Linked DNA regions of Homo sapiens: all the other regions are linked to region 4. Evidence: promoter capture Hi-C in 16 types of primary human blood cells and fetal thymus (Javierre and others, 2016). All regions are on one chromosome and are shown on one strand. The core of a region is centred on a gene start or on the middle of the fragment in contact, and the rest is flanking DNA. Distances in the headings are between cores, read along the strand shown.

Region 1 (2,700 bases), core at 11-2,510, 690 kb after region 4:
AGTGCTGAGTCATATTTCATGGCATGGAGGTGCCACAGTCTGTTTCTGACTTGGTGGACCCAGGGATCTGCAGAAGCTAGTGGGAAAAACCCAAGCCTGCCTGCAGCCTCTAGAACTGGGTAAGTTCTAAAACACGCTTCCATGGCTACAAATCTGAGCACCTGTTTTGGGGAAAGGACCAACTATGCAAACAGAGGGGCCCCACCCCCAGGGGAGGGCACCAGGAAGTCTGTGTCCTCTATTAGAACCAGACTCTATCCTGGGGGAATAGGATACAAGCGAGGGGAGAACTGCTGGATCTACCCTTGAAATTGGATTCTCAGAGCCGAGACAGATTCTGCAGGGCATGTCACCCACCTCTCATCCTCGCGAGACCATCCTTTTGGAAGAAATAGCATTTTCCTTAGTACGAGTATTAGGAAGCTCTTCCTTCCACCAAGTGTGATCAGCACTGCAATCACCTCTGCACTAATTAGCACTGCAACAGAACCAGCCTAGTTTCCCCACTCAGGAGACGCTCCAGTGGAAGCTCTACATCGGTGCTCGTGTGCTCTCTCAGTCTGCACCTCCTCTGGCTAAACATGCTCAACTCCTCTGATCATTCAAACAAAATGTTTTCTAAACCCTGGCCATCTGGTTCCATCTCACCCTTAGTCATCTTCCCTTGAAGACACCGTTTCCAGAATTCACCAGCATAACCCACAAGAGGTCTGACTAGCGTGGCCTCCACAGGGTCTGCTTGCCAATTACCTTCCTCATTCTGTTTGCTCTTTTTCTATTAATTGTCCAATGATGCATTCAAGTAACACACCCAAACAATAAAACGATTAAAATAAGAAGATGGAAAGAATGATATGTTCCCTCGATGAAAGCTTATAAGGCAATCAAAAATCGTTTTTCAAAAAGTAGATAATGACATGGAAAAGCTATCTAAGATAGAATGTTAAATGAAAAAAATAGGCTGGGCACGGTGGCTCATGCCTGCAATCCCAGCACTTTGGGAGTTCAAGGCAGGTAGACCACTCGAGGCCAGGATTCAAGACCAGCCTGGCCCATATGGTGAAACCGCCATCTCTACTAAAAATACAAAAATTAGCCTGGCGCAGTGGCGCACACCTGTAATTCCAGCTGCTTGGAAGGCTGAGGCAGGAGAATTGCTCAAACCCGGGAGGCAGAGGTTGCAGTGAGCCGAGATCGCGCCACTGCACTCCAGCCTAGGCGACAGAGCAAGACCCTATCTCAGAAAAAAAAAAAATAGTCACTCCTGCCCTTCGAAATTCAGCTCAGGCATCTCCTTGGAGTAATTCTGGGAGATCCCTCTCCAACACCTCCCTCCCAGACTCCTGTGATAGGGGAGGGAAGGGGGTCTGTCTTGCTCCACAAATCTAGCATGAGGTATGATATCTAATAAATGTTTGATAAGTTCATTAATAAAATCATATCTTTACTGCAGAGTGGAATTAGTGATGATTCCATTTGGAGGAGAATAGGTGTGCACACAAACAGCAGAACACACACACAAGACTTGTGGGAGAATATAAACAAAACTATTTATAGAGGCTCTAAAATCTGGGAGAGGGAATTTCAGAAGTTTCACATTTTACACTGTACATTTCTATATTGTGTGACTTCAAAAAGAAAAGCTTCCTAAATGTGGTAATGAGGAAAAAAATTTTTTTAGAAAACATGCATAGGCAATACCAAATTGTTAAAATGTCTTTGTAGGGGTATTTGTGTCATTTTTATTAAAAAAAATTTTTTTTGAGACAGAGTCTCGCTCTGTCACCCAGGCTGGAGTGCAATGGCACGATCTCGGCTCACTGCAACCTCCACCTCCCAGGTTCAAGTGATTCTCCTCTCTCAGTCTCCTGAGTAGCTAGGATTACAGGTGCCCACCGCCATGCCTGGCTAATTTTTGGATTTTTAGTGGAGATGGGGTTTCACCATGTTGGCCAGGCTAGTCTTGAACTCCTGACCTCAAGTGATCCATCGGCCCTGGCCTCTCAAAGTGCTGGGATTACAGGCATGAACCACCGCACCCGGCCTCATTTTTAAATTCTTACTACTTATCTGAGTTGGCTAAGTTTTCTTTAAATATGTATATATTAGACTTTTAATAATAACTTTAAAAGGTATAACCAAATAAAAACATAGGGGGAAGAAAGCACACTTCGACTTTGGGCAGTCACACTTCCATGCCTGATCTCTCCTGGGCTCACTGTCAACTCAGAACTCTGGGTCTCGTGGTTTCTGCTCCATGGTTGAGGGAGGTGGTTCAGTGAGCAAAGCACTGACTCCTGACCCAGACGGATGCATTCTGCTCAGCGCAGCCTATCAGACAGTCTGTCCAGATGCTCTGACTCATAATCAAGTCATACAAGGTATCAGCCTTTCCCTCCCAGCTGGTGTCATCTGTGGAGCTGGTAGGCAAATGCCCCAAGTCCTCATCTGAGCTGTTACTAAATAAGAAATGGCACAGAACCCAGGAAGGGGTGACGAGCAGCCTGAGGTCACCACCCAAAGTGACGTGGATTCAAGAACAGACCCCCCCTTAGGCACAGCCTTTCAATCAGACACAAGCCTACCAGAACTTCGATCCTCCAACACCCAGGGCTCCACACCCAGCAGACAGGAGGCCAATAAAACACCTTGTCCAGGATACAAGTGGTGTGTGCACAACAACCAACTAGACACATTGAA
Region 2 (2,700 bases), core at 177-2,676, 670 kb after region 4:
GCAGAGGTGCCTGAGGACCCCACCCCTAACTCTGGTCCCATCCACAGAGGCCAAGAATGGAGTCAAAAAGACCTTCATTCAAGTAAGTCCCTCCCCCACACAATCACTGATGGAAGGCGCTAGTGATAAACAGTTCACCTTTGTCACAATCACTGATGGAAGGCGCTAGTGATAAACAGTTCACCTTTGTCACAATCACTGATGGAAGGCGCTAGTGATAAACAGTTCACCTTTGTCACAATCACTGATGGAAGGCGCTAGTGATAAACAGTTCACCTTTGTCACAATCAAAGAGCAACACCCAGCCGGGCGCAGTGGCTCACGCCTATAAACCCAGCACTTTGGGAGGCCAAGGCGGGTGAATCACCTGAGGTCAGGAGTTCGAGACCGGCCTGGCCAACATGGTGAAATCCCATCTCTACTAAAGATACAAAAATTAGCTGGGCATCACGGTGCACGCCTGTAATCCCAGCTACTCCAGAGGCTGAGGCAGGAGAATCACCGGAACCCGGGAGGCGGAGGTTGCAGTGAGCCGAGATCGCACCACCGCACTCCAGCCTGGGCGACACAGCGAGACTGTCAGAAAAAAAAAAAAAGAGCAACACCCTAGACACAATACATGCCCACAACAGAGGATTTATTAAATAAACTGTGGGCTCAATCAGAACAACAGCAGTAGTAACAATCAACATTTATTAAGAACATGCCAAGGTCGGGCCTATAATCCCAGCCTGTTGGGAGGTCAAGGCAGGAGAATTGCTTGAGGCCAGGAGTTTCAGACCAGCCTGGGTAACGCCTCATCTCCATAATCAAAAAAACTAGCTGGGCATGGTGGCGCTTGCCTGCAGTCCCAGCTACTCCGGGGCAAGGCCAGAGAACTGCTTGAGCCTCAGGAGTTCAAGGTTACAGTGAGCTATGATTGCGCCACTGCACTCCAGCCTGGGTGACAAGGAGACTCAAAAAAAAAAACATGCCTGGCATGGTTCTCGGTGCTTTTAAATCTATTAACTCATAATCTTCCTAACAGCTCTATGAAGTAGATACTATTACCCCTATCTCAGAGGTGAGGAAACTGAGACACAGAGATGTTCAGTAACTTGCCCAACATCTCATGGTTAATAAGTGGCAGGCTTAGAATTTAAACTCAGGCATTCAAGCTCCAGAGTCCACACTGCTCACAACCATGTCATCCTGATTGTGTCCCCTCCTTCTAAACAATGCAACCTTATAAAAACCCTGAGAGAGAGGGTGACTGATTTGGAAAGACCATCATAATATACTTCATTTGTTAAAGCAGGTAATGAGACTGAATGCACGGGATAATCCTATTTCTTAACACACACACAGCAAAAAAGGCTGGGAAAATAGACATCAAAAATTTGGCCGGGTGCTGTGGCTCACGCCTGTAATCCCAGTACTTTGGGAGGCCAAGGCAGGCAGATTGCCTGAGGTCAGGAGTTCGAGACCAGCCTGACCAACATGGTAAAACCCCATCTCTACTAAAAATACAAAAAAAATTAGCTGAGTGTTGTGGCGCATGCCTGTAATCCCAGCTGCTCGAGAGGATGAAGCAGGAGAATCGCATGAACCCAGGAGGCGGAGGTTGCGGTGAGCCGAGATCTTGCCACTGCACTCCAGCCTGGGCGACAGAGCGAGATTCCATCTCAAAGAAAAAGAATTAACAGTGGTTATTTCTAGACAGTAAGATGACGAGTGACTTTAGTCTTCCTTTTGCTTGCCGATTTCCTTCTCCCACTGGGAACATGTACTTCTTTGTTGTACAATTAATAAATTAGAGAGATGGAAAAGAAGTCCTGGTTACGAAGCTGTGGCGGCAGATGGTTCTAGGTTGTTCTTGGCCTGAATTTTAGCCCATTATTAATCAGGAAACGTCCGCCGAGCTCATTTCCCTAGACAGCCACGGAAGGCTCTGGCCCAGCGAGTGCAGGAGAGGCGGCTCACCCACCACGCACAGCACCTCTGCGAGGTACGCCCCACCCTGACGTGGGGTATCCCACAGGTGCATTAACCACGCCTTTCCGTTTTCTGTAATGCAGGTGCTTTGACATCTGAGGCCCTGCTGACTGTGGAAGGCTGGCCAATGCTTAGAGATAGGAAAGGACTCACCTGCAAGCAAACCTTCCCTATGCAAACCCACCTATGGGGGCCCAGCCCCACCTCCTCCGAAAGGATCTCACACTCAGGGCCACTATTCTTTGCCCTAACCACCCCAGGCCCAAGTATCAGAGAACTAGGGACAGCTCCTATGCCCCGGAGCCTACTGAAATTATTCAAACAAGCCAGTTCTAAACCTCTCACCCTGATTTGTCTTGCCTTTTCTGTGTAAACCATATAAAGGCTCTTTTTTTTTTTTTTTTTTTTTGAGACAGAGTCTCGCTCTGTTGCCCAGGCTGGAGTGTAGTGGTACGATCTCGGCTCACTGCAACCTCTGCCTCCCAGGTTCAAGTGATTCTCCCGCCTTGGCCTCCCGAGTAGCTGGGATTACAGGCGCCCGCCACCACACCCAGCTGATTTTTGTATTTTTAGTAGAGACAGGGTTTCACCAGGTTGGCTTGACTGGTCTCAAACTCCTGACCGCAAGTGATCCAGCCGCCTTGGCCTCCCAAAGTGCTGGGCTTACAGGCGTGAGCCACCATGCCCGGCCCATAAAAGGCTCTTGCTTACATTTTCCCCTCATTC
Region 3 (2,700 bases), core at 91-2,590, 960 kb after region 4:
GGACTTCTTATTCCAAGCCATGGCACCAAAGGAGAAGGGGCATTTTGTGGGTGTGCATTAGGTCTGAACTGCTTTATCTTGTTTTAGTTTTCAGTAATTTAACAAAGGGAGCCTGCTGAATAACAAAATTAAAATGATGAAACAAAAGTTTGACAGTGATATTCTGAAGCAAAAACTGTCATCTAAATTTTTCTTGCTGATTTTTTTTAACTTCCCTATTTTAGAAAACTATTGTTGGGCTGTTGGTAGTGCTTTCCACAGATGCTGGTCCTCAGTGGATTAGGTCAGAAGCTCATGTTCTGATAGTTCTTCATTATTTCACAAAGGTGGACAACCTGAAAGAGAAAAGGCTGCTTGATGTCAGCAGAATCTAAACCCCTACATTAAAGCTTTGCCTCCCATTCTGTGGTTGTGGTGGTGGTAAGAAGGAGATATTGGTACCAAGAAAAATTTCCAAAACTATTGAGAGAGAGAGAGAGAAAGTATTGAAATTTTGTTCTGCCTTGCAGGATCCATTTATCATTCATTGGTAAAGGATATATTCCTTGTTCTTACCAAGTGTACATTTAACTCTTGCTGACATGTTCAGTGTATTTTATTACTTTTAATGCTGTCTTAAAATGAACATTCTTTAAAGTTGGACAGGAAGGTGGCATTTCTTATTTATTAACATTTTTAACTTTAAACATATTGTGACTCATCTAGACCTTTTAATAAGACGGTCAACTTCACACTTAGGGAAAAAATTAAAATGTGATGGCCACTTCTAATAATTCAGGTAGTTATAAGGGATCTGGAAGAAATCCAGTCTTTATGAATATACTATTAGTTGGGCATTAAAAAATCAGTATATATTTTAACTTTTTGTGACATGCTAACACATTTTCAGAATAATTATTGCATAGTAGAATTTATTACTCCAGAACAGAAAGACCTTACTTCATTTCAAATGAAGTTAATTAATTTACATTTCTGGGTAAAAACTGGTTCTATAAATTAAGTAGAGTAGCTTCTTTATGATAAAGACAATTTTCTGAAAAGTGAACAATTCTGTTAAAAGAACTTTATTGATGTGTAGATTTCGCACTTTATTTCTGAGACTGCGTTCATGTAGTTGTTCCCCAATGTTTGAGTACTAAGAGAACTTGAGAAAATTACTTCATAAACATATGGAAACTGAAAATGGACTCTCTTTGTGACAAAGATATTCAACAGAAAATATTGACCCTGCATTGCAAAACACAGGTTCGGGTTCCCTAAGTCCCACAGTGTAATGATTACAAATATCCTAGTGTCCGGTCTAGAAAGACTTTCTAGGAGAAGACTAGTGGAATTTTCTAAAGGTTCAGTTTTAGCTTTTATAACTTAAATTTGGCCCTGTTACGTTCTTTTTAATTTGAACCATAAGGTATCTCCCCTCCCTTCAGGAATAACTTATTGGAAAACTGAAAAGAATCACTGAATGGAATGTTCATTTTATGGCAGTTGTTTTAAGTTTTAAAATACACAGAGGAAAATATTGTGGAAGGACCTCTTTGTTGCTTTCCCTTCTAAGTTGTCTTCTTCTTCTTCTTCTTCTTCTTCTTCTTTGGTCCTTAAGTGAAATAAAGACTCTAAAACTAATTTGTATATTATCAGCCAGAGATGCGGATGGCAGTCGAGCCAAATCGCATGGCTTTCAGATCAGGTATTCTGCACATTCATTCCAAGGTCATAGATTTTTAAAAGGACCTGGATTTGAAGAGATGGCAAATGATGAGCCATCAGAAAACTTAATTTGGAAAACATGTATGTAGCCAGTGTGGATATTGTGGCCTCTCTCAAGACACATTGACACTGTAGACTTCATTCAGTCCAGTGTGAGTATTTTGGAGTAGGTTGGATGTAGATTTTGTTTTTATCATTGATTTGTACCGACAGAAATAGACATTTCATCATGTAAAATTCCTGTTATTCTGGAAAAACCTATTGTTTTGATCTTCTTGTTTTCTGACTTGGAAGTATCCTTTCAAAAAAACTCTTAAGATATCTAGGTCTAAAAAGCACTTCATGAGATGCTAAAGCTGACCCACTGGTTGAAAATGTTGACCCTATCCTGTTATTTAAATGTGAACATTTATTGTACATTCAGTGAGTTATAGTGTTAATAGTCTTGTGCTATGCAGCAGGTGTAAAAATTAATAAATATATTTTTTAATAAACATGTTTGTATGTGTGAAGCTACAAGAGCTATTTTTTTTTCTTTGAAGAATTGCAACTTTTGGTTTCCAGCGTGGCATACAGGAAGCTTGGAAGTTGTCCCTCCATCCTAGCAATAAGTAAGAAGCTGAGCAAATGGAAAGATCAACATCTCTCCTTAGATCCATCAGAAAGTTGAGCCCACAGGACAAACTGCTGTCCCCAAAATTGGAAAGACAAACAGGCAAATACAGAGAATCATAGCTTATTGAACAGAAACCCGTGAGAAAAAAATCCACGATCAATAACCTCTATGAGAACCAGCGCCAGGGTAGGAAAACTTGAACTATATTTGATGAATTGCTGCAGGCTCAGCGTGGAGAAATCTGAGAGGTTAAAAACTCCAGGGAACTCAGTCACTGGAGGGGGGGTCAAGGGAGACCCACACTTTTGTGAGTTTTATCCCCAGGAGCTTGACTAGGTTCTCACAGTGAAATTTGGAGAAAAATTCCCTCATGCTTC
Region 4 (2,700 bases), core at 119-2,618:
CCTAGAGCGTAGTCCGATGTAACAGTTCATCTGGCGAGATTCTGAGTTACCAATTTTTTATGGGTTTTGCGTTAGAATAATTTTATAATAATCAAAAGTAAATGAGAACAAGGCCAATAGCATAAAATTTCACTCCTTCACACTCCTAAGTGTTTTTCGAGGCACTGCGGAAAAGGAAGCATCTATCGTGGTTGGTCCAGCATCCCTTCAGTAGCTTAGATCTGCAGAAATACTGTTGGAACATCGTTTCTTTATTCTTCCCATCCTTTGTGTGTTAGGCCAAACCCTGAGGACTGTCTGCCTTGGAATAGAGAGGAAATCCAAGCATATGTGCAAAGTTGAGCTGCACTTTCAGCCCCAGGTCTTCAATGGGCCTTCTCCACAGGCACCTGTGAAATGCCAGCAGGGTCGTTGCATGTAGAGGGATCCCACTCAGTGCACCCCTGGGAATGGCTCAGCCGCACTGTGGGTGTAAGCATTAATCACACAACAGCCATTCTACATATTCCTTTTTTATTCTCCAGAGAGTGCCAGGAAAAGTCCTGCCCAGTCAAAAGTCTTCTCTTGCAGCTGGGTGTTGAGGGTGATTGCCCCTCTCTCTCCTTGTAAGATTATGTTTGACAGCAGTGAAAACCAACAGTTTAACAGCAGTAATCTCTTGGCAGGACAGATTGATATGAGCCTTGTCCCAAAACAAAGTAATCCTTTCAGGGAAGTGTATTTCAAGTTGAGCTCACGTTCCCAAGATGCTGAGATTCTTATGTAGCTGACACCGGAGCTGAGGCTGAGCCCCAGCCAGGGATATCCAACGATTGCCAGTAACACCACGGAACTGAGTGAAGATTCAGGGGCTGAGTGTGTTCCTGAGTGCTTCAAACCGGGGGACCTGGAAACCAGAGGACTCCTGGGGAAAGGCTGTCAACTCCAGCCTGCTCTTCCTAAATGGCCTTGTTAGTAGTGACTTCAGCCCTGGCGGTGAGGCATGTGGGTCAGAATAACATTCCCTTTCTTTTCCCTTCACCTCTTTTTTCTCCACGGTTCCTTTTCATAACTTCTTTATTTGCTGCCTAGAGGAGCTTTCTGGACATTTTGTCTCCAGGGAGCGTGACATGTCACCTGTTTCTCACCTCATATGCCTCTGATCTTCTACACCAAGGTAGCTATAAAGGCTTGCTTTCTAGGCTGGGTTTCCCTGCACAGGCCCACTGAACCACTCAAACCTCAGAGGTGGAAGTGCCCAGCGGGCCTCATGGTCAGCTGGGGATAACGGAGTCATTTTCGCAGCCCAACTTCTGAAATTCCACAAGAGGGCGCCCAAGGTCTCCCAAGTCCGGCCACGCCCGGTGGCCTTGAGGCCGGAAGGTGGCGCTGTTGCTTTAGCCATCAAGAAAGGCAAGGCTGGGGACGCCGCATCCCCGGGTGCGGAGGGCGATGCCTAGGGGCGATGCTGTGCCTGTGGCGGCCAAACAGTGCCACCCACTCCGGGAAACAAAGCCAAGCGCCGGACGCTAGGTATGGGAGAGAAGAGCCACCCTGACCCAAGGGAGGGCTCTAGGTGAGGAGCCAGCGTCCTCCGGCTCCGGTTCCCGCTGCACTGCTGCTTTGCCAGGAGGCCTTGAAGAAAGTCATTCATTCTTTCTCCCCCACAGCTTCCTAGGTCTTCCACGTGTTCAACGGAAATTCACAAATTCTCTAGTAGCAGGTAAGCTTCGGATTCAGGAATGAAAAAGACAAAGCCCTGTCCTGGGTGAATTCATTATCCATGGACAGGGGAGGCAGGCGCATCATCGGAAAGTCACCGTGTGAGGAGGGACGTGGAGGCACAGAGGTGCACACGGAAGCCCCCAGAAGAAGGACTTCCCCCAGCCTGGGGAAGCTGGGCGGGCAGGGGTGGGCCAGCGAAGCCTTCCCGGTGATTCTAGGCAGTCTTAAAAGGTGTTAGGAGTCAACTTGGGAAAGATTAGGAAAAGGCAGTGTAGGCCAAGGGACGGCCGGAGCAGAGGCCGCGCGGCAGTGCTGGCATGTGGGTGGGCGGTGGTAAGGAAGGCGGTGGATGAGGATGCAGGGAGCAGATGGGCTGCGTTGCAGGCTGGGCCCCTATGGCCCTCAATAGGTTTTGTGGTCAACATGCTTTGTGGAGTTACAACAAGCAATGGTGGCCCTAACACATATATTCATTTATAGGTCCATAAATCTGCATTCATAGAGATAAATGAGTAATCCCCAGGGTGAAGGAGAACTGGAAGAGACACTGGAGCCAGGTCCACCCTTGGCCAGGTTTTACCTTGACTTGGCGTCATCACTAGGCACTGGTTTTTTTCTCTCTCCTTCTTCCCTGACCAAGAAATACAACAAATTCGTTATGATATCGACTTGTCATGATCCGAAATTGAAGAGCAACCATATATTTATTTGGCAAGATAAATACACACATTCTTTACATAAGATTAGTAGCCACCAGTTTCTAAAAGCATATATTGTCATTTATTTGCCAAAACAAAGGTACATGCCCACATGTTATAGATGGGAAAGATGAGGCCCAGAGCTCGGGTGCATGGCTGAGGTCACCCAATTAGTGGATGGTGGTGCTGGCACTTCTGTCTGGGCTGCTTCACCTTGTCACACACTCTCCACTCCATGCAGGCCGCACCTCTCTAGCAGGGTTTATCACCCAGCTTAGTATCACTAGTACCCAGCACA
Region 5 (2,700 bases), core at 181-2,680, 930 kb after region 4:
CTGATAACCCCTGGCTCAAAGCCCCACATTTCTAATTACAAGGTTGAGCTTTCCTGCATGGCCTGTCCCTGCTCTGAAGCATCTCATTAGAATAAATTTGGGTATGTTTGTGAGGTGGGACACCGTGAATAACAAAGACACTCCTGTTACTCAGGAAATTCCAGTGACTTAAAGGTTACCAACTAGGGACAAAGACCAGGAAGATTCCTTATTACATGATGAGATTGTTTCTAGTTTTTGGCTATTTTGAAGAGTGCTGCTGTGAGCATTCTTATATGTCTTTTAGTGAACATATGTGCACATTTCTGTTGGGTATGTATGTAGGAGTGGAGTTGCTGGGTCATGGATATGCCTATATTCAACTTAGGGGATGCTTCTGAACATTTTGCTAAACTAATTATACTGGGCATTGACTTTTAAGTTATTTGTGCTAAAATATACCCTCAGATTAGGAAACCTGGGTCTGAATCGCTAGGTTATCTGAACACAGATCTTTGTAACATCTTATGTGTTTTCGGTGTGGTGAAGTTGTGTGTGTGTTTTGAGGACTGTGAGAGGGTGATGTGAGGGTACTTGTTCCTTTGATGTCTTGTATGGATGCATTAGAAAATAAGATCCTAAAAAGCAACTCTCTGCCAAATTTTAGCTTTTGATTTGATAGAACAGTAATGCAAATAGCAGATACTATATAGTTATGAACTCTTTGGGCTGCAGCAAGATAAGAATGGTGGGGATCGCAGACTTTTGAGTTTTACTGGTGTCTATTGGTCATCAGCCTTTATGATTTCTCTCCTGTGACTGTAGTTCTTCGAGAGCAAGAGAAGAATTGGCCCTGCTATGAATGTAACCGCCGATTTATAAGCTCGGAGCAGTTGCAACAGCATCTCAATTCTCATGATGAGAAACTAGATGTGTTTAGCAGGTATGTATGAGGGAGAAATGCTCACAGACTGAGTTCATAAAGGTTCAGAATCATTTCTATATTGTCCACTAGCTAATGAGTGTCTCCGAGTGTCATGTATAGATAGGTAACCAGGTGGGCTACTGAGGGAACGGTGTTACCTGTCATCTCCTTTTCCCTCTGCTCCTCATTTACTATTATCCATCTTTTCCAGCATAACCAATACCCAGCAATGGGAGATGCTTTCACCTTAGGTAAATCTCCCTTAATTGGAGATTCCGAAATAGGAATTTTTGAGATAGGACATACCTTTAAAATAATCTGCATCTCTGATTTTCAGACTTTTTTCAGCAGTACAATTACTTAATCAAACCAAGTCATATGTTTAATTCCACTATATAAAAAAGACAGATGAGGGGAGAATCATATGGGATGAAGTGGGCAGGGGCCAGATCAGGTAGGGCCTTATGGGAAATGGTAAGAAATTTAGATTTTATTCCAAGTGTGATGAGAAGTCTTTAGAGGGTTTTGGTCGGGGAGTATTGTGATGTTGATTGTATTTTTTTTTTGAAAACCATTTTGGATAAAAATAACACCTGGAAAAAAATAATCACTAGCTTATATTAGAGTAAGAGTGAAGACAAGGAGTCCTGTTAGCATCTATCACAATAGTTTGGGGGAGGAATGAGGGTGGTTTGGAGTAGGCTCATGCCAGGGGGACAGATGTAGGGTTGCCAGCTTTTCTAGGGTTTGGAAAGAGAGGAGATGTGTGAGATGGTAGTTGGGTAAGTGGGAAAGCGAATGTTCTAGGGAAGTACCATACAATTGCCCACTCTATTAAATGCCCACTTGGGGTTCATGGTTATGAAATGAAAGTGAGCCCACTAGCATGGCTGTGCGTTTTCTCCAGCTTCATTCAGCTGCAGGGATGCTGGTGCAGAGCAGGCAGGGAATTGAATTACACAGGGTTGTGGCTTTGCCAAGTGCTCATAACACACATTGAGAAAACAGAGCAGCCATGGGATGGGAACTGAGAGCACGCACGAGGGAGTGGTTCCAGTGGATGACCTTGGAGCGTATGCTGTGGAAGAAGGGGAGAGAACATCAAGGCAGTGATGCAGAGCTGCACGAAAGCACCGGAAGGATTGAACTGGAGATGCTCGCGTGGCTGAAGGGTTGCTGAGTGCTGGGTACTAGAGGGAGTAAACTACAGAGCCAGGGTAGTGTCCGAGTGGGCAGTGCATGGGATTGGCATGAAGAGGCTTACAAGGGTGACAGGGTCTAGAATGTGACCACAGGGGTAAATGTCTAAGGAGGGGGTGGACACAGTGAGATTTGAGTCACTCCTGGGAATCTCCAAAACTCTGTTCATGGCTCTATTGTAGCATTTTTTATATTATATTGTGATTTTTGGTTTATATGCCAGCTCCCTTTTCTAGACCCCTGAGGGTAAAATCTGTTGCCTGTAATCTGATGTCCTTAGTGCCTAGCCCAGTATGTGATACACAGTAGGTAATATGTTTGTTAGCCAACTGTTAAGAGAAACCTGGGACAACTAGGAAGATTTGAACTTTGACTAGATATAATAATACTCAGCAACTCTCAGATATTTCTCAGGTGTGATAATGGTATTGTGGTCATATATATATAAAGAGTTCTTATGATTCAGAGAGACATGCCAAGATATCTAGAGATGAAAAGATATCTGGGATTTGCTTCCAAGTCATCTACTGGGTATGTGTGTGGGCAAGTGGTGGGGATATAGATGGAAAATGTTGGCCATGGTTTGAAAAATGTTG
Region 6 (2,700 bases), core at 140-2,639, 940 kb after region 4:
CGACCGCATCAGCCGCTCCAAGACGTTCAAGCCCCGCATCACGTCCACAGACTACGACAGCTTCACGTTCAAGTGCCGCCTGTGCATGATGGGCTTCCGGCGGCGCGGCATGCTGGTCAGTGCCCAGTGGCTGCGGGTTCCTCTGTCTTCCCAGCATACCTCATTGCTGTCGATGATGGTGACGTTTGTGTTGCATTGTGTCCTAAGTTATATCGATCAATGGTTTTGTCAATGTCCAGGGGAAGAAACAGAGGCAAACGATTCCCAATTTGGAGTTCTGTCTTTTCTAGTCTCCCTTTGCTCTCTCTTGCTGCTTTTTGGATCAATTCTTGTAAGAGGTCTTTTTCTTTTTCTTTTTTTTTTTTTAATCACTTTTCATTACTACTTTTGTTTTTCTTTACCCATCTCAATCTCTGCTCTCACCTTATTTTAGTTCCCTCTTTTGTGTCCCTGAATGTATTTTTTTAATGGGGTATTTGCCTTCTCCCCAGCTGTTCCCTTTTATTTTATTTATTTATTTTTGAGACAGAATTTCGCTCCTGTTGCCCAGGCTGGAGTGAAATGGCGTGATCTCAGCTCACTGCAACCTCCCCCTCCCAGGTTCAAGCGATTCTCCTGCTTCAGCCTCCTGAGTAGCTGGGATTACAGGTGCCCACCACCATGCCTGGCTAATTTTTGTATTTTTAGTAGACACGGGGTTTCACCATTTTGGCAAGGCTGGTCTCAAACTCCTGACCTCAGGTGATCCACCTGCCTCAGCCTCCCAGAATGCTGGGATTACAGGCGTGAGCCACTGCACCCAGCCCCCAGCTGTTTCCTTTTAATGCCTCTCTTTTCCAGATATCAAACAGCAGTAGAAGGAAGCTTTCCGTCAAAGCAGGGTATGTGCATCCAGGTTAGCTGAAGCATCAGACAGCCAGTGCTCTGCTCTCAACTCATTTTGACCTTGTTACGGGTGCAGAATATATTTCTGCCAGGTGCTGGAAAGTCATAGAGCAATATTTAAAATTCAGAACCTTAGTCTGTATCTCATTCCATGTTCTTAGTAAGACTAGGGCATTAAATAATGAAAGACAGGTTTGCATGAGGAGAACTCACCAAAGAAATTCATACCAGTGTAATTTTCCTTTTTCCAATAGTAGTTCTTTCAGCCAAAGACTGTTGATGGCTGAATTCACCACAGTGAGTCACCTTCAATTGTTTGGTGAATTATTGTTAACTCCTGTTAACCATGACTGTGAGTGCTTTGGCATCAGATGGGGTCTGGTGATCCTGGTTCTGGCCAAATGCCTTATTATTTGGGGGCATTGCTTCAGAGAATTCCAGCTTCTGGCGGTCATTATCAGAGGCATTCGTGTAGCTTCTGTTTGGTTAATGGGGTCTCTTTTTCTCATTGGTTCTTTCTTTTCCCTTTAGGTAAATCACTTATCGAAGAGACACCCAGACATGAAGATAGAAGAGGTGCCAGAGTTAACTCTACCCATCATAAAACCCAATCGTGATTACTTTTGTCAGTATTGCGATAAGGTAAAAGGGAAATATTCATATTGGTATGCCACTGGGGTTCCCTGCTTAGAGCTGACTTGTCCGTATTTATAAATATATACTACGATTTTTTTGTTACTCTTACCAGATGGTTACCTGTCTCTCAGTAGTCTCCATTCAGACAAGAAAGGACTAGAAATACAGCCTTATTTTAAGCCAAATTTTTTTCTTAAGAAATAGTTGACTTCATTTTTCTTACTGTCCCTTCTCTCTGTGATTTTTGTTACACAAGAAGAGGTTTATTACTAGTGCTTAGTGTATGAATTAATTTCAAATTCCTAGGCTCTAAAATGAGAGCATTTATCATGACCTATAACATATATGGTAGTTTTGGGGTTTCTATAAGGTGGAGGGGGTTGGGAAAGCTTTGTGGTGGAGTACTCTACTTGTACTATTGCATTATTTTCATGTAGTTACAGAAAAGACACAGAATATATATTTATTATTCCACTGTAATATCCTTTCTTACTTTTTGAGATGGAGTCTTGCTCTGTTACACAGGCTGGAGTGCAGTGGCATGATCTCAGCTCACTGCAACTTCCGCCTGGGTTCAAGCGATTCTCCTGCCTCTGCCTCTGGAGTAGCTGGGATTACAGGCGCCAGCCCCCACGCCCAACTAATTTTTGTATTTTTAGTAGAGACAGGGTTTCACCATGTTGGCCAGGATGATCCACCCTCAGGTGATCGCCCGCCTCGGCCTCCCAAAGTGCTGGGATTATAGGCATGAGCCACCACACCCAGCCATCCTTTCCTTATATAATGTAGCTATATCAGCTTAAAAGTGAGAAACATTTTTTAACATAGATTCCCCACTATAGATAGCAGTTGCTATTGACGTTGCCATTTGGAAGATTCTCTGGCTCCTGGTCTTCAGCTGCGTACATCATATGAGAGCTTTCACAGGCAGCTCTCATATGAGGTGGATGGGCCTTAAAAACAATTATCTTCCTCTGTCTGTGTATCATATCCAAATTTTAAACTTTAGGATAAAGGGTATTTTCACAGTTATTATCTTAGATTTATAGATTAAAGAAAGAAACCTATCATATCTACATTATGTTCTTATTTTATTCTAATTTGTAGTATATCCTTGCTCTTCAATAGATCTGTTAATATACATATTAATATATTTTATTTGGGGCTACATGAATACTT
Region 7 (2,700 bases), core at 4-2,503, 710 kb after region 4:
GGGTTCATTGCTGTTTTTATTCTTACTGATGTTCAAAGTGTACCCTCTTTGGCCATTGGGACCTTCTTTAAGTCAGCTCTGAGTCCTTTTGACCCAATTCTTGTCATCTTTGATTTTTTGTTTATTTTCTGGTATGATGTTGCAGTTTCAACTTGTACTTTTCCTGCCCACACATGCAATCAGCTGTTTCTTTAAGACAACCTAATAGCTTTTAGTGAAAAGTGATCCTCTAAGGGGATGTTCATTTCTAGCTGGTCTTTGTTTCTGGGGCTTTTGGTAGACAAAGCCAGAACTTTGTGAAAGAGATAAAACACCCATCATGTTCATATTGATTCTCCCAATTCTAATTTAGGACCACAGAGTACTGACTTATTCGAGCTGAGATCTGTATTTTCTTTTTCACACTGATAATTCTTGTTCTCACATCACTTTTTTTAAAAAAAACTCTGTCTCCTTTATCAAATGAAGGCAACAGGTACAACTTTCCCATTAGAGTTCAGTGAGTTGGCCCTTAGTGGAATTTTTGTCAACTTGCAGCTCACGAACAATAGAATAGCTAATTTGAGGGGAAAAAAAGGAAATTATTTTAAAATTGTTAGGCGGTTCACAGAATGTCTAGGAGGGCCAGAGAGCTGAGAGAGGAGGAAACAGAGCCAGAAACAAGGCCCCAGACACACCACAAGGCTGCAGGGACAGCCCCACTGCTCCCGCCCAAGCTGATACCATCAGAGCTCATCCCCTGAGCCCAGACCCACTCACCAGTGCCGCTGCCGTCCCAGGAGCAGGACGCTTCCACCTGCATCCCACCAGAAAGTGGGCTCACTGCAGTGCCTGCGTCCTTTCTTTGTGGCCTCTTGAGTAAGTCTCTTGTGAGTGCATCTCATTAGATCCTAAGTTACATGTCTGTGCCCTACCTACAAGGGAGCTGAGAAGGAGAGTTCTGGTTTCTGCCTGAGGTAGGCAGGACTCAAAAGATGGAAAGTCTCCAAATCTAAGAGGGTTGTTCAAGAGACACTGGAGTGTCCCTAAACTGGGTAAATGCAGATGCACGGAAATGTGAGTCGAGTCTGGGAGTGTGTTCTGGAAATGCATTTCACTGTGGGCCACTTGTTTGATGCTCTGTGTTTCTCTGACTTCCTCTGCCCTGTCCACATCATCAGCACATCCAAGTTCATCCCTCCTTCCATCTAATATGTGTAGTTCTGGCCCAGCCTGCTCCCTGGCCCAGGGTGTCGCGTGGGGTATACACAGGTTTCATTAAAATCAAAGTCCGCTGATTCCCTTGTTTACATTCTGAGCTCAGTCATCAGCTGAAAACATTTACCATCTAAGAAGTCATTCCCCAAACAGTTTCAATTATTAAGACCATGGATTTACATTTACTATTAATAGTGATATTCTTCACTGTAAATGTATGTTGGGTCTTGAGGTATTAACTAATATTATGAGGCCAATGTGATTAATGAGACTTAAACTTTAAATGCCCAGTACATGAAGACAAGCCACTACAATCTCTTCAGTGCTTAAAGTCATGCAATACTCGATTTAGTAATTTACAAAGTTTCATTAAGAAATGATAAATGCACAGCTTGAGATTTCTTCATTAAATGCTAAAAGCAAAAAGCCATAAACCATGGTGGAATCACTTTTTCTTGCCACAGGAAAAGTGGCTGAAATAATACACAGAAGGCTGGGCACAGTGGCTCACGCCTGTAATCCCAGCACTTTGGGAGGCCGAGGCAGACAGATCACGAGGTCAGGAGTTTGAGACCAGCCTGGCCAATATGGTGAAACCCCCGTCTCCACTAAAAATATAAAAATTAGCTAGGCGTGATGGTGGGTGCCTGTTGTCCCAGCTACTCGGGAGGCTGAGGCAGAAGAATTGCTTGAACCTGGGAGGCAGAGGTTGCGGTGAGCCGAGATCGCGCTACTGCACTCCAGCCTGGGCGACAGAGTGAGACTCCGTCTCAAAACAAACAAACAAAAACCACAGAAAAGGATATGGCAACACTATAGTCCATTCTTCTGTCAGTAAATACTGTTAGAAGATACACAGATTTGAAGAAACAAGTAAAAAACCACCTTTAGAGTATGGGAGGTTTGGATGAAAGCACAGATGTTTCTAATGTAGCTCCACTCATAGTGTAATATACGTAGATTTTTCTGCTCACGAAATACAAATATTTTTTTTTCTTGCCAGGAGCAATGGCTCACGCCTGTAGTCCCAGCACTTTGGGAGGTTGAGGCAAGTGGATCACTTGAGATCAGAAGTTTGAGACCAGCCTGGCCAACATGCGGAAACCCCATCTCTACCAAAAGTACAAAAATTAGCCAGGTGTGGTGGTGGGCACCTGTAGTCTCAGCCACGAGGGAGGCTGAGGCAGGAGAATCTCTTGAACCCAGGAGGCGGAGGCTGCAGTGAGCCAGCCTGGGCGACAGAGCGAGACTCCGTCACACACACACACACACACACAGCAGAAAACAAAACTAAACTAAAAGCAGCTTGATTGAGGTATAATTGACTGCACATATTGAAAGTGTCCAATCTGGTAAGTTTTGACACATATCTACACCTGTGAAATTATCACCACAATCAAGAACTCTTTCAGTTTTGATAGCCATTAAATATAGTATTGCAACAAACTGACCTTCGAACCAGATTTTCTAATTGCTTTATTTCAAAGTACTAAAACACGATTA

Evidence for each region. The method cuts DNA at HindIII sites, captures the fragments that hold promoters and counts their contacts. A CHiCAGO score of 5 or more calls a contact.
Region 1: a fragment that was not itself captured here is called in contact with the fragment with the promoter of LINC02551 in region 4 in 1 of 17 cell types (total CD8 T cells); the score reaches 6.8 in total CD8 T cells.
Region 2: a fragment that was not itself captured here is called in contact with the fragment with the promoter of LINC02551 in region 4 in 4 of 17 cell types (total B cells, neutrophils, erythroblasts and 1 more); the score reaches 6.7 in total B cells.
Region 3: a contact is called between a fragment that was not itself captured here and the fragment with the promoter of LINC02551 in region 4, in 2 of 17 cell types (total B cells and naive B cells). The highest score is 7.2, in total B cells.
Region 5: a fragment that was not itself captured here is called in contact with the fragment with the promoter of LINC02551 in region 4 in 2 of 17 cell types (total B cells and naive B cells); the score reaches 6.3 in total B cells.
Region 6: a contact is called between a fragment that was not itself captured here and the fragment with the promoter of LINC02551 in region 4, in 2 of 17 cell types (naive B cells and total B cells). The highest score is 8.9, in naive B cells.
Region 7: a fragment that was not itself captured here is called in contact with the fragment with the promoter of LINC02551 in region 4 in 1 of 17 cell types (naive CD8 T cells); the score reaches 5.1 in naive CD8 T cells.

Annotation. Positions count from the first base shown.
Region 1 is chr11:130,166,274-130,168,973 of GRCh38, reverse strand. All of the region lies in intron 1 of ST14 (ST14 transmembrane serine protease matriptase), which reads right to left. Among named protein-coding and RNA genes, the nearest start is that of ST14, 7.8 kb to the right of the region's middle. The HindIII fragment of the contact is 771 bases long and covers 875-1,645 here.
Region 2 is chr11:130,191,373-130,194,072 of GRCh38, reverse strand. The region is part of intron 7 of ST14 (ST14 transmembrane serine protease matriptase); the gene reads right to left. Among named protein-coding and RNA genes, the nearest start is that of ST14, 33 kb to the right of the region's middle. The HindIII fragment of the contact is 2,906 bases long and covers 1-2,700 here.
Region 3 is chr11:129,899,234-129,901,933 of GRCh38, reverse strand. It overlaps PRDM10 (PR/SET domain 10), which reads left to right. Exons shown (of 21, transcript NM_199437.2): 21 at 1-2,223. Among named protein-coding and RNA genes, the nearest start is that of NFRKB, 5.0 kb to the right of the region's middle. The HindIII fragment of the contact is 1,898 bases long and covers 392-2,289 here.
Region 4 is chr11:130,860,778-130,863,477 of GRCh38, reverse strand. LINC02551 (long intergenic non-protein coding RNA 2551) reads left to right here and starts at 1,368. Exons shown (of 6, transcript NR_125383.1): 1 at 1,368-1,512; 2 at 1,650-1,702. RefSeq lists enhancers at 1,006-1,506, 1,507-2,007. The HindIII fragment of the contact is 6,813 bases long and covers 1-1,709 here.
Region 5 is chr11:129,933,323-129,936,022 of GRCh38, reverse strand. It overlaps PRDM10 (PR/SET domain 10), which reads left to right. Exons shown (of 21, transcript NM_199437.2): 9 at 805-922. Among named protein-coding and RNA genes, the nearest start is that of NFRKB, 39 kb to the right of the region's middle. The HindIII fragment of the contact is 2,948 bases long and covers 1-2,700 here.
Region 6 is chr11:129,915,954-129,918,653 of GRCh38, reverse strand. It overlaps PRDM10 (PR/SET domain 10), which reads left to right. Exons shown (of 21, transcript NM_199437.2): 14 at 1-115; 15 at 1,417-1,527. Among named protein-coding and RNA genes, the nearest start is that of NFRKB, 22 kb to the right of the region's middle. The HindIII fragment of the contact is 1,046 bases long and covers 867-1,912 here.
Region 7 is chr11:130,148,977-130,151,676 of GRCh38, reverse strand. No RefSeq gene overlaps it. Among named protein-coding and RNA genes, the nearest start is that of ST14, 9.5 kb to the left of the region's middle. The HindIII fragment of the contact is 3,598 bases long and covers 1-2,700 here.